2 separate regions of the Homo sapiens genome follow, and region 1 is linked to region 2. Evidence: promoter capture Hi-C in 16 types of primary human blood cells and fetal thymus (Javierre and others, 2016). All regions are on one chromosome and are shown on one strand. The core of a region is centred on a gene start or on the middle of the fragment in contact, and the rest is flanking DNA. Distances in the headings are between cores, read along the strand shown.

Region 1 (5,383 bases), core at 206-2,705, 1.2 Mb before region 2:
CATTTTGCCCCTGCCTTAGAGATCTGTGGAACTTTAAACTTGAGACAGATGATTTAGGGTATCTGGTAGAATAAACTTCGAAGCACCAAAGCATTCAAGATGTCACATGGCTTTTTCTGAAAGCAAACGGTCACATGCGTTCACAAGGAGATGATCTGAAATTGGAACTTATGTTTAAAAGGGAAGCAGAGCATAAAAGTTTGGAAAATTTGCAGCCTGACCATGCAGTAGAAAACAAAGACCCATTTTCCAGGGAGATATTCAAGCAGGCTGCAGGAATTTGCACAAGTAACAAGGAGCTGAATGTTAATAGCTGAGACAATGGGGAAAAATGTCTCCAGGGAATTTCAGAGATCTTCAGGACAGCCCCTCCCATCACAGACCTAGAGGCCTAGGAGGGAAAAATAGTTTCCTGGGCTAGGCAGGCCCAGGGCTCTACTGCTGTGTGCAGCCTCAAGACATGGTGCCCTGTGTCCCAGCCACTCCACCTCATGGCTAAAAGGGGCCAAGGTACAGCTTGGGCCATTGCTTCAGAGGGTACAAGCCCCAAGCCCTGGCAGCTTTTATGTGGTGTTGGGCCTGCAAGTGTGCAGAAGCCAAGAGTTGAGGTTTAGAAACCTATGCCTAGATTTCAGAGGATGTATGGAAATGACTGGATGTCCAGTCAGAAGTCTGCTGCATGGGCGGAGCCCTCATGGAGAACCCCTACTAGTGCAGTGCAAAAGGGAAATGTGGGGTTGGAGCATCCACACAGAGTCCCCACTGGGGCAATACCTAGTGGATCTGAGAATAGGGCCACTGTCCTCCAGACCCCAGAATGGTAGATCCACCAACAGCTTGCACCCTGGACCTGGAAAAGCTTCAGGCACTCAACTCCAGCCCATGAAAGCAGCCTTTGGGACTGTACCCTGCAGAGCCACATGGCAAGAGCTGCCCAAAGCCTTAGGAGCTCACCTCTTCAATCAGCATGCACTGGATGTGAGACATGGAGTCAAAGGAGAGTATTTAAGAGGTTTAATATTTAATGACTGCCCAACCAGGTTTCAGACTTGCATGGGGCCTGTGGCCCCTTTGTTTTGGCCAATTTCTCCCATGTGGAATGAGAACATTTACCCAATGCCTGTACCCCCATTGTATCTTGGAAGTAACTAACTTGTTTTTGATTTTACAGGCTTGTAGGTGAAAGAGACTTGCCTTGTCTCAGATCAGACTTTGAACTTGGACTTTTGAGTTAATGCTGAAATGAGTTAAGACTTTGGGGTACTGTTGGGAAGGTATGATTGGAATAGCATGTGCAAATTCCCTGAGGCAAAAAAGGAGTACTGCTCGATGGAAGACCTAAGATGAGGCCAGTATGACTAGGAGGGGCATGGTGAGACTGAGGAGGCAGGTAGGGTCTAGTCTATGCAGATTTTTGTATACCATATTAAATATTTTATGCTTTATCCTAAGTGTCATCAAAAGCCATTTAAATATCTTCAGGGGTGGGGCAGAGGAAGGTAGTAGACACGAACAAGGTTGTATGTGGAAAAGATCACTTTGGCTGTACTGTAGAGCAGGGGTCCCCAACCTCTGGGCCACAGACTGGTACAGGTCCATGGCCTGTTAGGAACCCAGCCACACAGCAGGAGGTGAGCAGCAGGCAAGTGAGCATTACCACCTGATCTCCACCTCCTGCCAGACCAACAGCGGCATTAGATTCTCATAGGAACACGAGCCCTATCATGAACCATGCAGGCGAGGGATCTAGGTTGCAGGCTCCATCTAATGCCTGCTGATCTGAAGTGAAACAGTTTCATCCTGAAACCATTCCCTCCCCAGTCCATGGAAAAATTGTCTTCCATGAAACCAGTCCCTGGTGCCAAAAAGGTTGGAGATTGCTGCTATAAACAACAGACTGGAGTTGGGCCTAAGTGACTGCAAGAAGATACATTGAGTTTTAAACTGATTTCCAACTGAACAGAACTTTATGCATTCCTGCCTCCTCCTACTTTCCCATTAAGTAGATTATATTGAAAAAAAAATCAGTCAAATGAATGAAAGAAGCTTTTAGATGAATGATTATTTGGTTTTGTAAAATGGTTCACTTCTTTATTTCTTTTGCAAAGAAATTTTTTTGCCCTCTGATCACAGTGTGCAATTTGGGCTCACCAACTTGCTCTTTGAAAAATTCAGGAAGGTCGGGTGTGGTGGTTCATGCCTATAATCCCAGCATTTTGGGAGGCCGAGGCAGGTGGATCACCTGAGGTCACGAGTTCGAAACCAGCCTGGCCAACATGGCAAAATCCCGTCTCTACTAAACATACAAAAATTAGCTGGGCGTGGGGGCAGGCACCTGTAATCCCAGCTACTTGGAAGGCTGAGGCAGGAGAATTGCTTGAACCTGGGAGGCGGAGGTTGCAGTGAGCCAAGAGTGTGCCATTGCACTCCAGTCTGGGGGACAAGAGCAAGACTTCGTCTCCAAAAAAAAAAAATTTCAGGAAAACAAGGCAACAGAATCTCTGAACAATCTGCCATGGCGGGAAAGGATGGGACCCTGACAATTGTCAACTTATGCCTCTCACTTCATCTCTTGAGGTCTTGAAACTTCTTTTGCAAAAATTGTAACAGTGAGAAAATTATGACTGAGAGAGATCTGATCTAACCAGCCCCCACCTTGACTCTGTAAATCAAAGAACACGATCAAGGCAAGTCTCAATCATTTTAGGAGGTTTATTTGCCATAGTAAAGGATGCATGCCAGGGAGGCAGGTATATGCCTATCTCCAAAGATGATTTTGAGGGCTTCAGTACTTAAAGGGGAAAGGGTGGATACTGGGGGAAGAGAAATTTTTTTTTTTTTTTGAGACAGAGTCTCGCTCTGTCACCAGGCTGGAGTGCAGCGGCGCAATCTCGGCTCACTGCAACCTCCAACTCCAAGCGATTCTCTTGCCTCAGTCTCCCAAGTAGCTGGGACTACAGGCGCGCACCACCACACCCAGCTAATTTTTGTATTTTTAGTAAAGATGGGGTTTCACCATACTGGCCAGGCTGGTCTCAAACTCCTGACCTCCTGATCTGCCTGCCTGGCCTCCCAAAGTGCTGGGATTACAGGCGTGAGCCACCACGCCCAGCCAAGAAATATTTTTAAATTGTGTCAGTAGATAAAAAGATAAAACAGTTGCATCCTTTTGAATACACAATTTTCATGTGAGTGGGGAGTGGAGGAAATATTCATGCCTTAGTCTGGCTCAGTTAATCTGTATTTTTACATAAGATAACGTAGACAATAGGGCAGAGGAAGCAATCAGATATGCATTTGTCTCAGGTGAGGAGAGGGAAGACTTTGAATTCTGTCCTATGTCCCATACCTGTGAAGATATCAACTTACATTGCCAGGTTGAAATTCAACAGAACTGTTTTAGAGTAAAGATCTTTGGGCCTAAAAGGAATTTCCTTGTGGGTAAAATGTGAGGGAAGTATATAGCTTTTATCTTTGTAGCTATCTTATTTAGGAACCAAATGGGAGGCAGGTTTGTGTGACCCAGTTCCCAGCTTGACTTTTCCCTTTGGCTCAGTGAATCTGGGGTTTTCCTTTCTCATCTTTAACCTCCAAAACTGCCCTTGGTCATTCCTGGGCTTGCACCAAGCTAACTTTGGGAGAAACTTAGTTTACAGTTTAAGCGATAATAGCCCCTCCCCAAAACTAAACCACTTTTGTAAAACTAATGAAAAGCCACCAGGTTAGAAGGATAAGAGGAGCTTGAATTCTGCTAAGACATAGGCTTTGTTAAGTTAAATGATTACCAGCCACTATTCCAGAGGTCACTAGATTTGCAGCTTCCCCAGTTCACTACTGTAGAACCTAAGATTGGCCTTTTGAGATAAACTTTCAGGCTTCTGCATTTCGGATGGCTGACGACCCCACTGAGACCTTTGACTCTTGGCTCAACCAGTCCTGTGGCCTCCACCCAGAAGCAGGCTCAGTGCAGGGGGACCATTTTCCACACCCCTATAATTGCATTCCCAACCAATCAGCAGCACCCATTCCTCCAGCCTCCTGCCTGCCAAACTGTGTGTGTGTTGGGGGGGGGGTGGGTGTTTTGTTTTGTTTTGTTTTGACTATAGCTCTCAGATCTTAGCCAAACTATTCTTGAAAAACCCTACCCTCTGAATTTTGGGGGAGATTTGGAGTAATAACTCCATCTCCAAGACCTATCTCATGTCAATTAAATTCTTTATTGCAATGCCATGGTCTCTATGAATTGATTTTGTCTGTGCAGTGGGAAGGAAGAACGTATTGGGTGATTACAGTGTCATGGATTTAAATACCACCACCACCCTCAGAACTCTGAGAAAAGATAATACCTCAAACAGCTCTGAGCTGTCTGAGCTATGTGAAGTATGCAAAAATTTATCAGGCCCAGAGACAAGAGTTTGCCTGGGGGCAACTGTTTAGACATTTTGTTCCTGACTAGCAGCCTCACCCATTATCTTCATGTTCCTGGAATCTGTGATACAAAGAATAGTTTATAGCCAATCAATAGCTAATGTAATTTTAATGTAAATTCTTAGTAAACAACTTAGAAGCTGCCTCTTTTTCCTTTAAAAACCCACTCATAACCGCTGCTAATCAGAGTGTATATTTAGGGTAACTTGAATCTATGCTCCCAGGTAGCCATCTTCAACCTTTATGCTTGAATAAACTTCCTTTAAACTAGATTCTTACCTTTTTTATTATTTTAGGTTGACAACTCTCAAATTTATATCTCTAGCCCATTGGACTTCCTTCCCGAACCTCAGGGTCTAAATTTAATTGTCTATCCAGCCTCTCCACTTGGATGTTTAATAAGGATTTCAAATTCAACATATAAAAAACAAAATTCCCGACTTCCGCCTTAAAAATGGTTTCTTACAAGTTGCTCAAAACGCCTTTGACCTCACACTCCAAAACTAACATATCCACAAATCTTATAATTCTACTTCTAAAATACGCACAGAATTCATTGTTGTTTTCATCACCTCGATTTCCACCACTCTGGCCCACACCACTATCACCATGGCTGGATTATTGTAATAACTTCCTGATACCACTTTTCACCAACTAATACGAGCATTTTCGTCTGGTTCCCTCAGGGGTCCTTAAGCCCCAGGCTGCGGATAGAACCAATCCCTGGCCTGTTAGGAACCAGGAGGCACAGCAGGAGGTGAGCAGCAAGCAAGGGAGCATTACCTCCTGAGCTCCGCCTCCCTCAGATCAGCGGTGGCATCAGATTCTCATAGGAGCGGGGAACCTATTGTGAACTGCGCATTGGAGGGATCTAAGTTGTGTGCTCCTTATGAGAATCTAATGATAAATGTAATGCCTTTGAATCATCCTGAAACCATCATCCACCCCCCCACCA
Region 2 (3,808 bases), core at 215-2,714:
ATTATCCCTAATAAGTATACAATAGGATACCCATTGTTTCCAAGTGCTTTTAAATTCTTGACGCTGATGAGACATTTGCATCGTGACCAGCCACCAGTAAAATCTTTTAAGCCACGTTTTTTCTGCTTTTCTTGGGCACTCTTTTTTTTTTTTTTTTTGAGACGGAGTCTCACTGTTGCCCAGGCTGGAGTGCACTGGTGGAATCTCAGCTTACTGCACCCTCCACCTCCTGGTTCATGCCATTCTCCCACCTCAGCCTCCTGAGTAGCTGGGACTACAGGCGTGCGCCATCACGCGCAGCTAATTTTTGTATTTTTAGCAGTATTGGTTGCGCCATGTTGGTCAGGCTGGTCTCGGACACCCGACCTAAAGTGTCCCGCCCGACTGGGCCTCCCAAAGTGCTGGGATTACAGGCGTGAGTGCTCGGCCTCGGGCACTCTTTACTGAGCAACAACAGGTTGGAGAAACTAGTAGGGCTTCCAGTTTTTTGGTAAACCTATTGTTTAAAAGTCTGCCTGGTCATCAGATTCCAGTCGTCTTGTTTCTGCCTCAGATGATAAAACTCTAAAATTATAGGATGTGAGATCTGGAAAATGTTTGAAAACACTAAAGGGGCACAGTAATTATGTCTTTCGTTGCAACTTCAATAGCATGTATATTTTACACACTTTCATGACCATTAATCATCTCCTAAAACTGGGGAAAGCTCTCTAAAACCTCCTTAAGAGTAACCTTATCCGTTACCCTATTCCACCAACCTCTTTGTCCTTTTCTGTTTCAAGCAACTTTGAGATACCGACTTCTCTATGGAAGCTTAAGCCGTAGATGCTAAAACAAACGTTTGCTCGTTACTCCCAGCAGAGCACCGGCTTTTAAAGGACCTCAACAGACACGTTTCTTAACCTTTACGAAACTTTTCCAGGGGAAACTTAAACCAGGAATTTTACAATCTGGCATAAATTCTGTCACCCGCCCCGTGACTCCATCGCCACACATGCCACCTGGCTCCACACCACAACAAACAGGAGGGAGCGGAACCCATGCAAAGCAGGAGCTTCCCCCGTTTCCGGCGTCTGGGTGGATCTACGTTAGCTGCCGTTTAGGCAGCTTACGCGTCAGGTGTGGGCCTAAGCCTGCAGCTAAGGTAGGCATCCGCAAATCTAGTCCTTCTCTGTGACAATTTCCAAAAAGAAATGGTTTTTGAAACAACGATCCACTGCTTCCCACACTATCCAGTTAGGTCCGGGACAGACCCTACCCAGCTAATGCACTCACCCAAGAAGGCAGTCGCTTTCGCATTTGAAGGGCGGGGCGAAAAAGACCGGAAATGAACATTGGCGACTTTTTTGCGCAGGCGCAGATGGCCGTCTCCCATTGGTCATCTCGGCTCGGTAGTGGTAGGAGGGACTTCCTTTGCACATGCGCCAGGCTGCTTTTCCGGCTTTGTTGGAGATTGACGCGGCAGTGCACACCTGCTGGTACGAGCAAAAGTAGCCGACAGGCCAGAGTTTCCAGTTTCGGTGGCTTCGTAGGCTTTTAGCTTCTGAAATCCGCTAAAAGCGGCGGTTCATTCATCTTCAAGTACCTAGCCTGACTGGTAGGGCTGCTCAGCATTCCGAAACATTTCGACCTGGGGAGGGGGGCGGCGGTGAAAGAATACTTTCTGTAGAGAGTGCCCCTCGCGTCGCCCCTGCTTTGAAGGCTTTATGTATTAACGGAATGCCGAACATTTGTGTCCTACTTGCTGACAGCGCACAGGATCCTTCTAACAGTATTTCTCAAGTACTTAACAAAAAGATGAAAACTTGAAGTCCAAGCCGTGCTGCTGATTCCGTCTCACAGTTTAAAGACTGTCCAGAAACTTTAAGCTTTCAAAACTGTACATTTTAAAATCCTGTGCGTTTATCTTCATTTTGCTGGGCAGAAAGCCAAAGTACTGGACTGCCTGGTTCAGGGCTGAACGCCTAGTACACCTGCTAACTTGGAGCTTCAGAGCCATGGCAACCAAGGAGTCAAGAGACGCCAAAGCACAGTTGGCCCTCTCCTCATCGGCCAATCAGAGCAAGGAAGTGCCTGAAAACCCAAACTATGCTCTCAAATGTACTCTTGTGGGACACACGGAAGCAGTGTCATCAGTTAAGTTTAGTCCTAATGGAGAATGGCTAGCAAGTTCTTCTGCTGATAGGCTAATCATAATTTGGGGAGCATATGATGGAAAATATGAGAAAACACTCTATGGTCATAATTTGGAAATATCGGATGTTGCCTGGTCATCAGATTCCAGTCGTCTTGTTTCTGCCTCAGATGATAAAACTCTAAAATTATGGGATGTGAGATCTGGAAAATGTTTGAAAACACTGAAGGGGCACAGTAATTATGTCTTTTGTTGTAACTTCAATCCGCCATCCAACCTTATAATCTCGGGATCTTTTGATGAGACTGTAAAAATATGGGAGGTGAAAACAGGAAAGTGTCTCAAGACTTTGTCTGCTCATTCTGACCCAGTTTCTGCTGTTCATTTTAATTGTAGTGGGTCCTTGATAGTGTCAGGTAGCTATGATGGCCTCTGTAGAATCTGGGATGCTGCATCAGGTCAGTGTTTAAAAACGCTCGTTGATGACGATAACCCTCCTGTCTCTTTTGTAAAATTTTCTCCAAATGGTAAATACATTCTCACTGCAACTTTGGACAACACTCTTAAACTATGGGATTATAGCAGAGGCAGGTGCCTGAAAACATACACTGGTCATAAGAATGAGAAATATTGCATATTTGCCAATTTTTCAGTTACTGGTGGAAAGTGGATTGTGTCTGGTTCCGAGGATAACCTGGTTTACATTTGGAACCTTCAGACTAAAGAGATTGTGCAGAAATTACAAGGCCATACAGATGTTGTGATCTCAGCAGCTTGTCATCCTACAGAAAACCTCATCGCATCAGCAGCATTAGAAAATGACAAAACAATTAAACTGTGGATGAGTAACCACTAATCCCTTTGAAAATCAAGTAGTAGAGCCAAGTTGGCCAAAAAACTTGGATATTTAAAAAGACGGTTTCTTTTAATTTTGGCAGTTTGGTATTTTAAAAATTGTCTATTGTTAAATTTTGAGATTCATACACTACATTTACAAAATGAGATAGTTGAAAAAGCACATCTAGAATTCAGCTTCTGACTACCAATCTTTTTTGAGCAACTTTTTGTAATTTTTATGGATTTATGTCACTTTTATTACAGGGATATATTGCATAGTGGTGAAATCTGGGCTTAGTATACCCTCACCCAAATAGTATACATTGTACCTAGTAAATACTTTCCCATCTCTCACCCCACTCCCACCTTTGAAGGCTCTAGTGTCTATGATTCTGCTCTCCACGTCCAGGTGTACACATTGTTTATCTCCCACTTACGAGAACATGTGGTTTTTGACTTTCTGTATCATTACTTCACTTAATGGCCTCCAGGTCCATCCATGTTGTTGCAAAAGATAAGATTTCATTATTTTTTTTTGGCTGAGTAGTATTCTGTGGTGTGTATGTGTGTGTGTGTATGCATATATGTGTATGTGTATGTATATAAGTATATACACCACATTATCCAGTCATCTGGATATGTATATAAGTATATACACCACATTTTCTTTATCCAGTCATCTCTTGATGGACCCTTAGGTTGGTTCCATAACTTTGCTATTACGAATAGTGCTGCGATAAACAGCACTATTATGAATAGTGCTGCGATAAACAGTGCAGGTGATTTTAAAATATAATTTCCTTTGGGTAGATACCTACTAGTGGGATTGCTGGATCG

The links. Contacts are between HindIII fragments. The CHiCAGO score rates a contact against its expected background, and 5 or more counts as called.
Region 1: a fragment that was not itself captured here is called in contact with the fragment with the promoter of WDR5B in region 2 in 8 of 17 cell types (fetal thymus, naive CD8 T cells, non-activated CD4 T cells and 5 more); the score reaches 10.6 in fetal thymus.

Annotation. Positions count from the first base shown.
Region 1 is chr3:123,586,191-123,591,573 of GRCh38, reverse strand. All of the region lies in intron 2 of MYLK-AS1 (MYLK antisense RNA 1), which reads right to left. Among named protein-coding and RNA genes, the nearest start is that of MYLK-AS1, 3.4 kb to the right of the region's middle. RefSeq lists a silencer at 546-746. The HindIII fragment of the contact is 1,187 bases long and covers 862-2,048 here.
Region 2 is chr3:122,413,718-122,417,525 of GRCh38, reverse strand. WDR5B (WD repeat domain 5B) reads left to right here and starts at 1,464. Exons shown (of 1, transcript NM_019069.4): 1 at 1,464-3,808. The coding sequence starts at 1,998. The coding sequence ends at 2,990. It overlaps WDR5B-DT (WDR5B divergent transcript), which reads right to left and starts at 1,320. Exons shown (of 3, transcript NR_125405.1): 1 at 1,276-1,320. RefSeq lists enhancers at 1-666, 770-969, 1,130-1,179, 1,210-1,449, 667-1,484 and 1 more. The HindIII fragment of the contact is 1,055 bases long and covers 816-1,870 here.